2 separate regions of the Homo sapiens genome follow, and region 1 is linked to region 2. The links are contacts of gene promoters, found by promoter capture Hi-C in blood cells and fetal thymus (Javierre and others, 2016). All regions are on one chromosome and are shown on one strand. Each heading gives the region's core, a stretch centred on a gene start or on the middle of the fragment in contact. The rest is flanking DNA. Distances are from core to core; before and after follow the strand shown.

Region 1 (4,279 bases), core at 184-2,683, 930 kb before region 2:
GCAGGCTAAGACTTGCCTGTGGATGAGGGGAGCCCCAGAGTGACAGACCTAGGGGGCATTTGTAAAAGGTGAATCAGGGGCTGTGCCCAGGAAGGATTTGGGGTTGGGCAGAAGGCCTGGATTCTGAGATCCCAGTGGGAGGCTATGGTGGTCATAAGGAATGAGGGCTGCTACAGGCCAGTGTTATGGGGATGGAGAGAAAGAATGATTTGGTAAGATTTGATGGCCAAAGCACATGGAGCTCAAAGCAGAGAGGCAGGTCAGAGGTGACTGGGCTTTCAAACCTGGGTAACCAGAGAATAAAAGACAGCCTCGTTATATGCAAGAAATTAAAATAGCATTTAAGGCTGGGCGCGGTGGCTCATGCCTGTAATCCTAGCACTTTGGAAGGCCAAGGCAGGTGGATCACGAGGTCAGGAGATTGAGATCATCCTGGCTAACACAGCGAAACCTCATCTTTACCAAAAAAAAAATACAAAAAATTAGCCGGGTGTGGTGGCACGTTCCTGCAGTCCCAGCTACTCGGGAGGCTGAGGCAGAAGAATCACTTGAACCCAGGAGACGGAGGTTACAGTGAGCCAAGATTGCACCACTGCACACCAGCCTGGGCAACAGAGCAAGACTCCATCTCAATTTAAAAAAAAAAAAAGCTTTTAAATCTACCATTACATTCATTGCAGCAGTGTTTAAAACATTGAACACTTCATTATAACAGAGAAACTCAGACACCAACATTGACGATCTTTCTTCCAGTGTTGAAGAGCTTTCTTTGTCAAAGCTGGGCACTTGGCCTCATGGTTGAGCTTCAGCCAGACTTAGAAAGCCAGCATCCCAGAGCTCAGTGACTTTGTAGGGTGGACGGAAAACCAGCTTGTAGAAGCTAAATTTTCCCCAAGACACATTACTCCTCCTTAGCATTCGTTACCATTTTTATACCATTATTGAGAAAGAAAATTAGAGAAAGATACCCCAGAGGCATTTTCTCCGCAACTGCCAGGAAGTGAGGAAATGTTCCAACGATGAAACTGATCTGGCATTTGTTTACTTTTCAGTTGCATCCAGTGTCTGCTTAAGAATGTTCTGATGGGCAGATACCTAGATTATCACACAGCAAATGCAAGCCAGAAAGGTGATAAATAGTGAAAAGGGCACCAGACTGGGCATGTGGGTTGGGAGTTCCCTTCCTGGTCCTGCCTGCTAGCTTGTGTGGCCTCATCCATGCAGCGGCACTCTCTGCCCTAGTTCCCTTCCTGAAAAACGAGGTGAATTGGGTGATTTTAAAGGTTCTTTCCAGCTCTGTGTGAGTGGATCAGTGATGTGCCTCTTGCTTTGGGTTTTCCCCAACTCTTTTTTCTCACATTCTGCATTCTGCTTTGCATGTGCAAACAGAAGGGATATTTATGTCAGATGATTTAGACCTTACTCTGGTTTTTAATAACTTTATTGACATTGAACTTTATTAATATTTTTAAAGCATCATTCTGTCTATTCTCCCTTGATCCACAAAACTGCCATGTAAAGTAAGTAAGCCAGGAGTTTTATTCCCAAATGTGCAGCTAATGATAACAATGATGATTTCTATTTACAGAGTGCCTGCCACATGTCAACATATGCCTTATATTGAATGTCTCACTTAATCACCACAATCTTCTAGGTACTGTTACTCCCACTTTACAGATAAGGAAGCTGAGACTTGTAGGGGCTGGGCCTCACCGAATGCCTCCAGCTTCCTGATGGCTGAGTCAGGATTTCAATCCTGGTCTATCAACTCCAACTCTGTGCTCTCTAAGACCTTTGGAGGTTATGTAAGGGTTGTCAACTGTCTTCCTCTACTACCCAATATTTTTTGTGGACATTTACCTCTGTACCATCAGAGAAAACCGTTGGCCAATGTGACCCTCCATTTGCTTTGTGGGCTTCCATGGCCTCCCCATGTGAAATATAAGGCCCAGATTTAAATCAGGCAAGCTGTTGACAAATGTCTATCAAGCACCCAGTATGTGTCTTACAGTCTACCACAGGCTTTGGAACCCTGAAGAAGTATTAGAAATGTCTCCTTCCATCCAGATTTTACAATCTGAGATGAAGAAACTAATTGAGCGAGTACAACATCAGTGAACGAGCAGTGTCCTGTGTTATCATGGAGACCACCAAACTTTATGGAAAGCTCATTCTGCTCCCACTGCAGCCTGGACTGTTTGGCTTAATTCTCATGAAAAGCTTATTTGATGGCTGCTACACAGTGAGAGCTTGTTGACAAAATCTACAACCAACATGCTGGTCCAAAGCAAAGACAGTTGGGGAACTTGTTCTTTGTGCAGTGGCGTCTTTGTCCTGGCCTTTGATTTGTTTCCTGGTATTTTAGCCCTGGAATTAATAGGTAAGCCAAACAGACCCAGTTCTGGCCATTATTGCATACTAATAATGGCTCAAAACAGTGGCTTGAAGCAACACACATTTATTCTGCTTTTGAATCCGAGGGTCAACTGGGCTCCGTGAGGCAGTTCTTGCTTAGGGTTCCTCAGACACTTGTAGTCAGGTGGTTCTGGGGCTGAGGTCATCTGGGAAGCTTCTTCACTCATGTGTCTGGAGCCTGGGCTGGGAAGACTCAGACAGCTGGGACCCCTTGGGCATGTCTCTCTAGGTGGCCTCCTCATGTGGTCTCTCTGTAAAACCATGAGAAGGCCCAGGAAGGCTCTCAGTGGCCTCCTTTGGGTCCTGTGCCCATTCTTGAACTCATCACTGTGGCCAGAGGGAGTTGTGCTTTGATTCTTATCTTGTTCTTACCTTGGGTCAACTCCACCCAAACTACTTAGACTGAATGTGGAAAAATGATGACTCCCAAGGGAAAATTGAAGTGAGGATGGATGATGGAAAATTAAGGCTAGCTGAGGTCCACTGGAGTTACTTGTTTCTTGCTGGTACTCATAGATGTTTGTTGATCATGGTATTGGATGGGGATAGGTCTCATACCCCTTTCCCTGAGATGCTGAGACCAGTGGCTTCTCTGCCTGGACTGGAAGCTACACATAGCTACACATAGCCTAGGGGTTGGAGCAGTGGGCAGCTTGGGGTTTTTATGAACCTACACTTCGGCTGAAGTTGCATTTTCCTACATATGTACCTTTGCTTATGCCATCTTCGCCACTCAGCATGGCCTTTCTACCCATGTCCACCATTTTAAATTAAATTGTCCAATTTGTAAGGCCGGATGTAAGAGCACACTAGCCAAAGATGAACTTTTTGTCCTCCGATCTCTGTGGCCTTGCTGTTCGAAGTGGAGCCCAAGCGCCAGCAGCATCAGCATCCCTTGGAAACTTGTCAGCAGTGTGGTCTTACTATGTACCTCAGAGCTACTGAATTAGAACCTGCATTTTAGCATGATTCCAGGTGTCATGTGGGCACAGCAAAGTCTGGGCAGCGCAATGCCAGAGCAGCAGTTCTCAGAGTGTGGTCCGGGAAAAGCTGAAGGTCTCTGAGACCCCTTCAGGGGGTTGGAAAGGTCAAACAATTTCCATACTAACATACTAATTTCTGCTGTGATAAATATAGCCGGGTGCAGTTATTCACACCTGTAAGCCCAGTACTTTGGGAGGCCGAACAAGTGGATCACTGGAATTTAGAAGTTCAAAACCAGCCTGTGCAAAATGGTGAAACTCTATCTCTACAAAAAAATTCAAAAATTAGCCGGACATGGGAGTGTATACCTGTAGTGCCAGCTACTTGGGAGGCTGAGGTGGGAGAATTGCTTGAGCTGGGAGGTTGAGGCTGCAGTGAGCCATGATTGTGCCACTGTACTCCAGCCTGGGAGACAGAGTGAGACCCTGTTTCAAAAAAATTAATGATAAATAAATAAATACAAATAGACATATGGCCAGGCGTGGTGGCTCACGCCTGTAATCCCAGCACTTTGGGGGGTCAAGGCTGGCAAATCACTTGAGCCCAGGAGTTCAAGACCAGCCTGGGCAACATGACGAAGCCCCGTCTCTACAAAGATTACAAAAATTAGCTAGGCATTGTGGCATGTGCCTGTAGTCCCAGTGACTTGGAAGGCTGAGGTGGGAGGATTGCTTGAGCCTGGGAGGAGGAGTCGCAGTGAGTCAAGATCGTGTCACTGCACTCCAGCCTGGGCGAAAGAGCAAGACCCTGTCTCAAACAAATAAACTCTCTCTCTCTCTATATATATATATATTTATATTTATGTATGTCTATATATTATGTATTTATATGTTTGCATATAAACATATAATATATATTATATATTTATATAAGTATATAG
Region 2 (3,804 bases), core at 444-2,943:
ACTCACGGGCCTCCCGCCTGCTGCTTCAGGGTCCACACTCCCACCCCAGCTCCATGTTCTCTCTCCAACTTAGTCAACTCCTTCCAGGTCCCCCCTCCTCCTCGCGCCGACGAGTCTGGGAAATAGGGAGAGGGGAAGCTTCATGAACACTGACCCAGAGTGGAAGGGTGGGAGCCAGGGGCCAGGGCCAAGAGGAAAGGAGGCTGCAGGGCAAGGGGGCGACCTGGAGAGAACTAAAGAACTGAGGTTTCCGAGAAGCCCACGGAGAGGCAGGCAGGGACGCAAGTGGCCAAGGAGTGTAGTTTAGGTATGGGGGTCTCTGGGCTCTCAAGGCCCAACATTTGGCTCTACGTCCCGGTGAGCGCGGCCTCGGCGCATCGGGAAGCGGAGATACTGTGGCACCGAGGCGCGTTCATTCCCGGGGCTCGCAGGGTAGCCCGCGGGTGGAGAGAAAGGAGGCTGGTTCCCTGGGAGGTTCAGGGCGCGGGCGAGGGTTTACGGGGGCCGGTGAGTGTAGGGGTCACTGACCTGCCCGTTCTTGCAGAGGTCCGCCCACATGCTGGTGCCGTCGCCGCCGCGCATGAGGATGTGGTAGGTGAAGAAGTAGATGCCGCGTACCTGGCAGCTGAACTTGCCCGTGGTGGGGTCATAGTGATTGCCGAGGTTGGTGACCACGTCATCGAACTTCAGCACCTCATAGCCTTCGTGGGGGCTCTTGAGACCCACATAGAAGGCGATCTTGGGGCCGCTGAAGGTGGCGCTCAGCGCACTGGTCACTTCACCCTCGGAATCGCCACCTACCCCGGCCCCGCCGCCCACCACCCCGACGCCGCTGGCCGTGCCCGCCGTCAGTTGCAGCCCTGGCAGCCCGGGCCGCCCCGAGTCGCCCTTCTCTCCCGGAGGGCCCCTGGGTCCAGGCGGGCCCGGCTCTCCAGGGGGCCCCCGCGGCCCTGGCTTGCCCGGTCGCCCCGGGTCGCCCTTGGGTCCCTGGATGAAAGGAGGAGGAGGGTTGGCGCTGAGGTCCTGCATGACTTCCAGGGCGGCGGTGCTGGGTCCGGGTGGCTGCGCCTTTGCACCCGGGGGCTCCCCGCCGGGCGCGGCAGTGTAAGGGTCGCAGATCATGCGGCAGGTGCCCATCATCTCATAGTGCGCGGCGCCTCGGGGCGCCGCCTGCAGCAGCAGCGGCACGGCGATGAGCAGCCCGAGCGCCATGGCCAAGAGTACGCCGACGGCCGCCAGGCAGGCACGCCGCCGCCGCTGCCACAGCCGGGAGGCGACCGCCACCAGCTCCTCCTTGCCGCCCGGGGAGGTAATGGTGGGGCGGCGCGGGCGGCCCCGCTCCCCGCGCTCGGGGACCGGCTCCGCGGGTCCTGGCCGCGCCCCCGACGTGGCGACCCCCAGCCCCGGCTACCCAACTACTTCAGCGAGAGGCGCCGGGACCTCTGAGCCTGGGCCCACCGCGCTGGGGCTGGTCGGGAGAGCCGCGGACGCCCGCGCGCATGACGTGGGGCACACAAGACGAATCCGGCGCCCCGAGGGTCCGGCGCCGGCCAGGGAGTGCTTGCGCTGGCCGGGGAGTCTGCTTGCGGCGTCCGGCGCTGGCTCCGCGGCGCTGCCTCCCGCCAGGCTCCGCTCCGCTGGGTTTAGTGGGGCTCCTAGCGCAGTGAGGGCGCCCCGGCTCCGCGGCGCGCTCTGCTGTGCTCTCTCGCTGTTCGCTGGCTCCCGCGCGGAGGGGGGACCCCGCTACCCTGACGTAAGGAGTCCGGGGCTGAGCGGCGGAGGCGGCGAAGCAGCGCGCGCTGCCATCACTCGGGAGACGGAGCCCTCATGTCATCAGCCTCCTATCTGGCGGCGTCCTCGGCAGAGGCGGTGAAGGCGCGGTTCCCCCTGGCGGCTCCCAGGAGCCACAAGTGGGCGCAGCGGGCGCGGTCCCAAGCCGGGGCACATCGGACACACCCACCCGCGGCCACACTCACGCGCCCCCCACCGATAACACACACAGACACCCACGCACGCAGTGGCGGGGCACGCACAGCCACCCCCACATGGCCACGAAAGCAGCTGGAATCCAGGTGTCAGCAGGGCTCCTCTGGGGTCACCTAATCCATCCCCTGGCCTGCAAAGAGGATCAAACCTCAACCCACCGAGTCCAGGAGAGTCCCGTGAGGTCCAGCGGGAAGGAGTTTCTGAAAGACCTCCTGAGTTATTTCTTCAGAATTGAATAGATCTCGCTTCTGGAAGATCTTTCGCAAACCTAGACTAAGGACTCCAGACTCTTAAACAGGCTCCCGTAGAGCACCCCACTAACCTCTGAGGTGACTCTAAAAAGCCCAAGGCTCCCAATACAAGAATATTTGCGGCCGGGCGCAGTGGCTCACGCCTGTGATCCCAACACTTTGGGAGGCCGAAGCGGGCAGATCACCTGAGGTTGGGAGTTTGAGACCAGCCTGACCAACATGATGAAACCCCGTCTGTACTAAAAACACAAAATTAACTGGGCATGGTGGTGCATGCCCGTAATCCCAGCTACGCGGAAGGCTGAGGCAGGAGAGTCGCTTGAACCAGAGAGGCAGAGGTTGCGGTGAGGCGGGATCGTGCCATTGCACTCCAGCCTGGGCAACAAAAGCAAAAGTCCATCTCAAAAAAAAAAAAAAAAAAAAGGAATATTCGCCTCAGACCTTTTCTTCCACCAGAAAATGGCTGGCCCTTGTCCTCTGCGTGAAGCTGGTGTAGAAACCAAATGCTTGATGCCGGCACTTGGCAGTGATCATGGTGCACTCAGCTTCTACTCCAAGCCCGGCCACTGCCAGGCAGATGCATGGGCACATTCCCTTGGACATCCCCAGCTTCCTCCTCCTGAGATGGGTTTAGTTATTTTAGAAAATAGTCCAAATAGTCCAAAGCCATTCTGAGCCAGTCTTGAATAAACCATGGCCTCAGATGAGAGCAGAATAGTCTATCTCCAATGTAGCATGTGAGGCTAAGGAAGGATGAGAGGCCCGCCGGTGTGGGAGAGACTTCCAGCGGAGAAATCAAAGCCCCAGCTTCTGCTCTTGCCCTGAGTAGCTGTGTGATTTTGCCAGGTGGTTCCTGTCCCTGAGACTCAGTTTCCTTAAAAGGCCGCCTCCTGCCCTAGCACCCCCAACATGGGAATCACACCAGGCCTGTCCTGGGGGGAGAATCTAAGGGCTGGTGTCAGTGTTTGGTGTAGCATCAGCATCTCTGGAACAACAGTGCACCCACCTAAGGCTATTGCTTTGAAGCTAACTCTCATTTGTCCTGCACTAGGTTCTTACGGGTTAATTAAAATCTATTTTTGTCCTCTGATCACCCTGGGTCATTTCCCCACTCCCAACCTCGTTGCTCTAGCCTGTTCTCTCCACATATATTTGTGGAAAGGATGACTGAGCCTAGCCGGAAGCCAACTTTACCAAGGAGAGAAGGAGCACATTTATTGGCACCTACTACGTATGCATCAGGCACTTTGCACGTGCTCCTTCATTCATTCCTCATGTTACTGTGGATTAGTGATCATTTTCCCACCGCACCAATGAGGAAAAAAAAAAGGTTTTGCAAGTGTAGGGTGTTTGCCAAGTGCATTTTACCCACATGACAGAGCCAGGATCCTCCCGGCACCCAGATCAGGGGCTATCTGAACCTGTCAGTGAACACAGCTTCAACAGCTACTTCTTGGCCACAGTCTTCACTGGTTTCCTCAGACTTGGGAGTCTTTCTCCACTCTCTGCCTCAGAGTCATCCCAAGAGCACGTGATTTCAGGAGCCACATGGCCTACTTCCAATCCT

The links. Contacts are between HindIII fragments. The CHiCAGO score rates a contact against its expected background, and 5 or more counts as called.
Region 1: a fragment that was not itself captured here is called in contact with the fragment with the promoter of C1QL2 in region 2 in 1 of 17 cell types (total CD4 T cells); the score reaches 5.9 in total CD4 T cells.

What each region holds. Positions count from the first base shown.
Region 1 is chr2:118,226,845-118,231,123 of GRCh38, forward strand. No RefSeq gene overlaps it. Among named protein-coding and RNA genes, the nearest start is that of THORLNC, 43 kb to the left of the region's middle. The HindIII fragment of the contact is 1,570 bases long and covers 649-2,218 here.
Region 2 is chr2:119,157,058-119,160,861 of GRCh38, forward strand. C1QL2 (complement C1q like 2) reads right to left here and starts at 1,694. Exons shown (of 2, transcript NM_182528.4): 1 at 529-1,694. The coding sequence starts at 1,212. RefSeq lists an enhancer at 62-872. The HindIII fragment of the contact is 3,837 bases long and covers 137-3,804 here.